3 separate regions of the Homo sapiens genome follow, and all the other regions are linked to region 1. Evidence: promoter capture Hi-C in 16 types of primary human blood cells and fetal thymus (Javierre and others, 2016). All regions are on one chromosome and are shown on one strand. The core of a region is centred on a gene start or on the middle of the fragment in contact, and the rest is flanking DNA. Distances in the headings are between cores, read along the strand shown. Region 1 holds the start of NXN (nucleoredoxin). Region 2 has its middle 4.1 kb from the start of GEMIN4. Region 3 overlaps GLOD4 (glyoxalase domain containing 4).

Region 1 (2,734 bases), core at 174-2,673:
CCCAAGGGACACACTCAGAAACCCAAACTCAACTCGGCAGCAAACTGGGAGACACGAGAAGTTGACAGCAAAGTATCCATTTCCCCAAATCCTCCTTCTTCCAGTCAATGTGCATCGATGGGGTCAGCTCAGCCCTTAACTCGAAGACCCCGGGACCACAGGGGCCACCACGCAGCTGAGCTCTGCACAGCCCGGGCTGTTCCCGCGCCCGGGAGGCGTCTGGGGAGGAGGCTGGACGGCCAGACAATGCAAAGCTCCCCGGTGGCCGCGAACTCAGCCTGGGGCGGGGGAGGCGGGGGCGGGAGACGGAGCCGTGAGCGCCCTTCTCGGCCACAGCCACGGCCACGGTCACCGGCCGCCTCTCCTGACCTCGGCCTCGGCCCCCAGGTCCCCGGTCCCCGGGGAAGGGGCTCCGGGAAGGCAGGTTTCTCCCGGAAAGAAAGGAAACGCGCTGGTTTGGGCGCCACGGGCGGGGGGCGTGCGCCCTCCCCTCCCCTCCCCTCCCCACTGTGGGAATCCGCGGGGGTCGGCGGCGGAGGCAGGAAGGGCCTGGCGCCTCTGCTCGCGGGTGAAGGGGTCGCGGAACCGGGATCCCCGAGCGCAGCCGCCCCCACCCGAGGCTCCCAGCGTGTGCGGACGGAGGGGCTCGAGCCGGGATCCCGGGGGCCGAGGGGGGTCCAACTTTCCAGGGCGGGCGCAGCGCAGCACTCGAACCAAAGAGGGGTCCTGGGATGAGGGTGCGGGCACAGCGCGGAAGGGGGGGGGGCAGAGGCGGGGACGGCGGGGTGGGGGGCGGGGAGAGGACAGTGGGTCGGGGGGCGGGGGACTGGGGGCAGGGGTCGGGGGGTGGAGGGCGGGCAGGGGGACAACGGGGTTGGCGGAGGGCAGGGGTAACGGGCGTGGGGGGCGGGCAGGGGTAACGGGCGTGGGGGGCGGGCAGGGGCCGGCGAGGCCCGCGCCGCTCACCTTCCTGTGCTTCTCCTTGTAGGGCAGCGCCAGCCACGGCATGTCCCGCACGAAGTCCTGCCACTGCCGCTGGTCCTGGTCCGAGGACACGAAGACGATCTCCAGGCGCCGCCGCGGCTCGGGCTCCGCCGCCGCCCCGGCCCCCGCTCCCGGCCCCGGCCCGGCCGCCGCGTCCCCCCGCAGGCGCCCGTAGAAGGCGGCCAGGCTGGCGCTGAGCTGCGCGCAGGGGGCGCTGAGGCTGCAGCCGAAGTAGAGACCCAGCAGCGAGATGCCGCGGGCGCCCAGCGAGTGCACGTCCACCTCCTCGCCGCCGCCCGTCACCAGCTTCTCGCCGAGCAGCTCCTCCAGGAAGCCCGACATCCTGGCCCACCGCAGGGCGGGCAGGCGGCTGCGACCCCGCTCCACGGTCCGCGCGGCGGGAGGAGGCGGCGGCGTCGGCGGCAGGCGCTGGGGAGAGCAGAGCCCGGCCCAGTAGGGCCGCCCACGCCACGCCCCCTCCGCCTGCCCGCGCCACGCCCCTTCCCCCGCCCTGCCACGCCCCCTCCGCGGCCCGCGCCACGCCCCTTCGGCTGCCCTCGCCACGCCCCTCCGCCCGCCCTCGCCACGCCCCCTCCGCCCTCGCCACGCCCCGTTTGCGGCCGGCGGTGGCCAGAGCTCTCCGCCCAGGCGGGGTCCGCAGCTGCCGGCCGCGGTGCGCGGGGTGACTGCTTGGGCGAGAAGCCGGACCCGAAACGCCGCACTCTCCCTGGAAAGCCCACGGCCGAAGTGAAGAAAGGAGAAGGGCCCGCTGAGCCGGCGCTTTCCCGGGCTGCAGCCCGGCCCGCATTTTCTCTCCTCCCCAGTTCTAAATTCCCTCCAGACCTCCAGGGATCCCGCCCCCTCCCCGCGGAGCTCTTCACCCTCTTCCTGTTCCTCCCCGGCCTTTCCCTCCTCCTCTCCCTGCACGAAGCCTGACCCTTAGGCCGCTCCGGGCCCCACTGACCCTGAGATGCTTATAGGACCCGCCGTCCTCACTGCATCAGGCCGGGCCTGGCTGGACACTGACTCCTCTGTGTGTTCCAAGCTGTTCTAAGGGGGCCGAGGACGCCCTCGCAGCTTCTGGTGGGGTCTGGTTAGGGTGCCAGGTCTCAGTGTGGGATTTCCGTCCAGGGGTCGCCGGGGCCTCTCCCCCCAGCGAATCTGTCTTCCAGCCCCACAAATGGATGCAAAGGACGCCGCGGGGCCTCCAGACCAATGCTGGCCGCGCTCCTGAATCCGCTCCATCCTCATGTCAAGTCTATGGATAGTTGAGAACATTTCTAGAGATTTTTTTTTTCCTACCAGCTGGCAGGATGCTCCCCAATGCTTAGGGAGAAGCTGGATTAAACAGGTGGTCTGGGCCGGGCGCGGTGGCTCACGCCTGAATTCCCAGCACTTTGGGAGGCCGAGGTGGGTGGATCACAAGGTCAGGAGTTCGAGACCAGCCTGGCCAATATGGTGACACCCCCCCCCCGCCTCTACTAAAAATACAAAAATTAGCGGGGTGTAGTGGCAGGCACCTGTAATCCGAGCAACTCAGGAGGCTGAGGTAGGAGAATGGCGTGAAGCCGGGAGACGGAGGCTGCAGTGAGCCGAGATCGCTCCATTGCACTCCAGCCTGGGCAACAGAGCAAGACTCCGTCTCAAAAAAAACAAAAAAACAGGTGGTCCGTGGCGAGTACTCTGGCCACGCAGCGCCTCCCCCCAACCCAACCCACTGGTGCACGAAGCAGGTGCAGATCCGGGCCCA
Region 2 (2,734 bases), core at 157-2,656, 220 kb before region 1:
AAGTTAAGCTTGGAAATTGAGTCATGGAATATGCAAAAAACTTCCTTTTGTTCCTAAACAGATAAGCTACAAGACAGAAGGCCACATATCTCCCCAGGTGGTCTCCCTCACCTGACAATATAAATTAACAGCTTATCTTCATAGGTAAGGGACAAAGACAACACCAGAAACCATCCCTCACCAGCCGAGACAAAACATAGATGTACTGAGCTGAATGCATAACTGTTCCTCTGCCTGCTGCTTTCACTGTAACATATAGATTTGGTGAGCAGTAAATGTAGATTTACTGAGCTGAATGCATAACTGTTCCTCTGCCCGCTCCTTTCACTGTAACATGTAGATTTGGTGAGCGCTAAATGTAGATTTACTGAGCTGAATGCATAACTGACTGTTCGTCTGCCCGCTCCTTTCACTGTAACATGTAGATTTGGTGAGCACTAAATGTAGATTTACTGAGCTGAATGCATAACTGAGTGTTCCTCTGCCCGCTCCTTTCACTGTAACATGTAGAGTTGGTGAGCGCTAAATGTAGATTTACTGAGCTGAATGCAAAACTGACTGTTCCTCTGCCTGCTCCTTTCACTGTAACATGTAGATTTGGTGAGTGCTAAATGTAGACTTACTGAGCTGAATGCGTAACTGTTCCTCTGCCCGCTCCTTTCACTGTAACATGTAGATTTGGTGAGCACTAAATGTAGATTTACTGAGCTGAATGCAAAACTGACTGTTCCTCTGCCTGCTCCTTTCACTGTAACATGTAGATTTGGTGAGTGCTAAATGTAGATTTACTGAGCTGAATGCAAAACTGACTGTTCCTCTACCCCCTCCTTTCACTGTGACATGTAGATTTGGTGAGCGCTGATCAAAGCCTAATAAGAATGTAACCACTTATCTCCCTACCTACCCTCCTGTATTTTTCCTTTCCCTCTTCCCTCCCTTCCTGCTCTTTCCCTTTTAAATACTTGTTAGGAATAATGCTCAAAATCCTAAGGAAATAGAACACTCGAACAAAGGATTCTTAGCAAAGCAATTTTACTTCTGTGCAGAGGGGTGCCTCCTTGGCCAGTTGTCATGAGAGCACACCTGAACAAAGGGGCACGAGAGCCTTTGTTCCTGACACAAGTCCTGCCCCTCTACCCTTTCCCCATTGGCCGGGGTCAGGTCGTACAATCTAAACTAATCGCGCTTGGCTAAACATTTGATTTTTTTAGATAGGGTGGGCCCGTAAAAGAAAGCGGAGAGGAAGGGGAAGGGGTGTCTGTAATGAGCTAGAAAGTTAGTCCTCTTTCCAAATAAGGAAAGGAATGTGAGCTGGTACTGATAACGCCTGGTGCTGTGGCGTGCCTGGGCATCTCACAAAGGCAAAAAGGGAAAAGGAGAAAAAGGGGGCGGGGCGCTATGAATTAAAGAATAAAAGATTGATCAGATTATTTGAAGAGAAACGTCGTCATATCCCACATACTGAGGCCCTAAAAATCCTCTCTGGAAAGTGTGCGGGGGCCACAGATCTGTGGTTGTGTCTCAGGCACATCCTCAGCCTTGGCAAAATAAACCTCTAAATGGGCGAGACTTGTCTCAGACACTTACCCGGTTTACAATACCTTTTCATATTGTTTTCATTTTTGAACCATGTGGCTCTATTGCTTTATATAAAGAGGATGAGGCAAGGGCACTTCTTTATTATCATTGAAGTCAGAGTAAATTTACTATTGATTTCCCCTGAGGTTGGGGTAAGAACTCTTAGAACAAACAGGGAAACTTCTCAACTCTTACCCTGAATTTCAACGGACACGTTGGAGGTCTCCTGAAAACTCTGGCTGCTAAGTCACAGCGGCACTGAGTGGCAGGTGAGAGAGCCAGAAAGCCACATGAAGGAGCACTCACCGTCCCTAGGTTTGTTAATTCCGGTAACATGTCAGACGGACACGGACTTCAGACAGTCCTGCAGGCTAACTAGGAGAGCTCTGGCAACACGGCCGTTCTAAGTCTTCCCGGAGATTTAACTCAAGGCACACTTGTATTTACATGTAGGCTCCACAACCCCTTGATTCAAAAAAACAACTCTGGAGAAGCTGAAGAACTTTCCAACTTCATCTGTTTGAAACAACAGCTTGCAGCCTGAACAACGCAGTGAGACGGTCGCTACAAAAGATCAAAACGTTGGCTGGGTGTGGTGGCACGTGGCTGTGGGCCCAGCCATTCGGGAGGCTGAGGTGGGAGGATCTCTTGAGCCCCAGAGGTCAAGGCTGCAGAAAGCCACGATGGTGCCCCACTGCACTCCACCCTGCGTGATAGAGCAATGTCTCAAAAACCAAAAATGAAACACCAGCTTGGGCAAAGCTATCTTCCTCATGCCATTTTCTAATTGATCATATCCCCCAGATGTGGGAAACTAATCACTTTTGTTTAAAATTAGTTTTTGCGGATCTAATGGGCGTCTAAATAATTTTTTTTTTTTTGAGACGGAGTTTCGCTCTTGGTGCCCAGCTGGAGTGCGACAGCGTGATCTCGCTTCACCGCGACCTCCGCCTCCCAGGTTCAAGGGATTCTCCTGCCTTGGCCTCCTGAGTAGCTGGGATTACAGGCAGGTACCACCACACCCATCTAATTTTGTATTTTTAGTAGAGATGGGGTTTCTCCGTGTTGGTCAGGCTGGTCTCGAGCTCCCGACCTCAGGTGATCCGCCTGCCTCAGCCTCCCAACGTGCTGGCATTATAGGCTTGAGCCGCCGCGC
Region 3 (2,734 bases), core at 65-2,564, 200 kb before region 1:
AATAGAACTTATATCCTCCCGGGGCCTCGGTTTCAAAAACACCTTCTGCAACTTCCGTCAGTGGCCACTCCAGCTTCCTGGCGTTGCTGACAGCCTGGCTAGAAGCGAGCGTGATTCCCTACAACAAACAACAGTACATCCAAGTACATGATCACAACAGATATTTTACAGAACAAGACAATGAGCCCAACCCCTATTGCCTACTGCCTTTAGGTAAAATCACCTAAGATTTAACTGGCATCCAACATTTTCTTCTAGTGATTTAAAAACAGGTTTTCAATGTTTTATCCCACAAACATTCAGACCTTTGTGAATAATAGGACAGAAATTGAAATGCCAGTGAAGTCTGATTCATTTAACACCAAAGATAACGTCTTCTAATTCTAAAGATCTAGCCACAGAAATCTTGATGTTACCTGGGTCTGCCAGCTAGCTACCTATTTAAGGTGACCTGTTCTTGCTTTTTTAACAAACAAAACAAAAATAAGCAAACTATCAAGGTTTCCTTACATTTAATCAAAGTGCCTAGAAATGTACACGTGTGCTTTGAGAAGACCAGCCTTGTTTCTGGCTCGGTTTATTATAATGGCCTCTCTGCCTCCAGTCTTGTAAATCCATTACCCACTCTGCAGCCAAAGTAAACTTTCCAAAACGCATCCTATAGTCCACCCCCAGACTGCAGCCAGCCTTGTTTTCCCTTTGCTCAAAGTCCGCCAATGGCTCATTTCACTCGGTGACTTACGGCCTAGGAGGCCCCCTGCAGTCTTACCCCATGGCACTGCCGACCCCATCTCTTACCACGCTCCCCTCTCGTTCTCTATTCCAGCCACACTGGCTTCCTTACACCTCCTCGAACACGCCAGATGTTACCTGACGGCTCTTGCCAGAATATTCTCTGCCTGGAACGCGCATCCCCCAGATATCCACGTGGCTAACTCCCTGACCTCTTTTGAGTCTCTGCTCAAATGTTATCTCTTCACTCACACACACCCTTGGCACTCTACTCAAATTTACAACCAGCCACCTACCCCCAGCCAAAACTCTGCTAGAAAAAAACGGTATTTACCATAAAGTCATTGCCAAGCTTGTAGTCTCCGACGCCATAATTGTAAGTCAGTTCTGCGACAAAATGATCATCCTCAGGCCCAAATCCCACCATTGTTTTACTCCATTTCCCATCATAAGGCCTAGAAAATAAAAGTAAATGAACTCAGTGACTACAGACAAGTCAGCCTCAGGCCACCCCCAGAGAACTACTGGGCACAGAGAGATGAGCATTCCTGTCTGGTCCTAAAAGTTCTCTTAAGGATGAGATGACCTCAGATGGTACAGAAAGCAGCTGTGGGCAGTGCTCATGGGACCCTACTACAAGCTCCAAAGACTATCCAGCATCTACCTGAAGGAAAGATTTGTTCACCTTTTCTGTAAAGCAAGGAACAGAATCCTAAAGACAGTTCTCCAACTGACCTGTTATTTCCTTGACTATCAATCAACAAGCATGAAATTCCTAATAGGCCTTGGACTGTTCCAACTTGTCACGGTACTAAGCTTAAGAGATGGACGGGCGTGGTGGCTCAGGCCTGTAATCCCAGCACTTTGGGAGGCCGAGGCGGGAGGATCACCTGAGGTCAGGAGTTCGAGACCAGCCTGGCCAACATGGTGAAACCCCGTCTCTACTAAAAATACAAAAATTAGCTGGGCATGGTGGCACATGCCCATAGTCCCACGTACTAGGGAGGCTGAGGGAGGAGAATTGCTTGAACTCAGAAGACAGAGGTTGCAGTGAGCCAGGATAATGACCCCGCACTCCCACCTGGGTGACAAAGTGAGATTCTGTCTCAAAAAAAAAAAGATACTGGAAAGCCGCTGCTTCATCTAGAGCATGTACTTATTTGCATTTGTGGCATAATATGAAACATATCTGGTCATTGTCCCTGGTTCCTGTCTCAGAGCTCCCAAAACCTCTGGAATTTCCTGATAGGAATATCTTTTGTTATATTCATAATGAGCCCCTTTCAGTCACACCTGAGTTTATGCTAATGAAGTGACTTAGAGTGGGGCCTCTACATAGACTCAGGATGGGGCTGGTCACCAGAAAGACAAATGATTAGAGGACTGAACTTTCAGTCCCATCCACCAACCTCTGGGAAGGAAAGGGATGGAGACTGGGCTCTATTAGGCTTGAACAATGAGACTCATGAGCTTCTGGGATGCTGAACGTAGGGAGGTGCTGGATTGGAGCCTGCCCAGAAGAGCATGGAAGCTCTGCCACCCACTCCCCATGCCCTGCCCTGTGTATCTCCTCTGTCCAGCCATTTCTGACTCGTACTCTTTATGATAAACCAGTAAATGTAAGTAAGTGTTTCCAGCGTTTCCCTTAGTTCCATGAGCCACTGTAGCAGACTATCAAACCCAAGGAAGCAGGAGCGGGAGCCCTGACTTGTAGTTGGTCATCGGAAATCCTGAAGATCCAGACTGTGACCGGCGCCTGACGTGGCGGAAAATCTTCTGGGACTGAGCCCTTAACTTGCAGGATCTGACATTAACTCCAGGTAGAGTCAGAATCAATTAAATAACAGGACAGCCGGCTGGTGTTAGAGAGCTGGAGAATCCCTTTGTGTCCCACAGGTGTTGTATGAGAGTGCAGAGAAATGTGTTCCCGACGCTCCTGAAGTTGCCTCCCTAATTTACTGCCTTCTTAATTAATTCCACTGCTTTATACTCATGAGAGTGC

The links. The method cuts DNA at HindIII sites, captures the fragments that hold promoters and counts their contacts. A CHiCAGO score of 5 or more calls a contact.
Region 2: a contact is called between a fragment that was not itself captured here and the fragment with the promoter of NXN in region 1, in 10 of 17 cell types (naive CD4 T cells, naive CD8 T cells, total CD8 T cells and 7 more). The highest score is 10.2, in naive CD4 T cells.
Region 3: a fragment that was not itself captured here is called in contact with the fragment with the promoter of NXN in region 1 in 15 of 17 cell types (endothelial precursors, naive CD4 T cells, megakaryocytes and 12 more); the score reaches 15.8 in endothelial precursors.

What each region holds. Positions count from the first base shown.
Region 1 is chr17:978,353-981,086 of GRCh38, forward strand. NXN (nucleoredoxin) reads right to left here and starts at 1,424. Exons shown (of 8, transcript NM_022463.5): 1 at 967-1,424. The coding sequence starts at 1,326. RefSeq lists enhancers at 337-1,272, 2,697-2,734. The HindIII fragment of the contact is 5,276 bases long and covers 1-2,734 here.
Region 2 is chr17:755,038-757,771 of GRCh38, forward strand. It overlaps the pseudogene DBIL5P. Among named protein-coding and RNA genes, the nearest start is that of GEMIN4, 4.1 kb to the left of the region's middle. The HindIII fragment of the contact is 2,801 bases long and covers 7-2,734 here.
Region 3 is chr17:775,802-778,535 of GRCh38, forward strand. GLOD4 (glyoxalase domain containing 4) reads right to left here. Exons shown (of 9, transcript NM_016080.4): 3 at 1,067-1,187; 4 at 1-118. Among named protein-coding and RNA genes, the nearest start is that of GLOD4, 5.1 kb to the right of the region's middle. The HindIII fragment of the contact is 464 bases long and covers 1,083-1,546 here.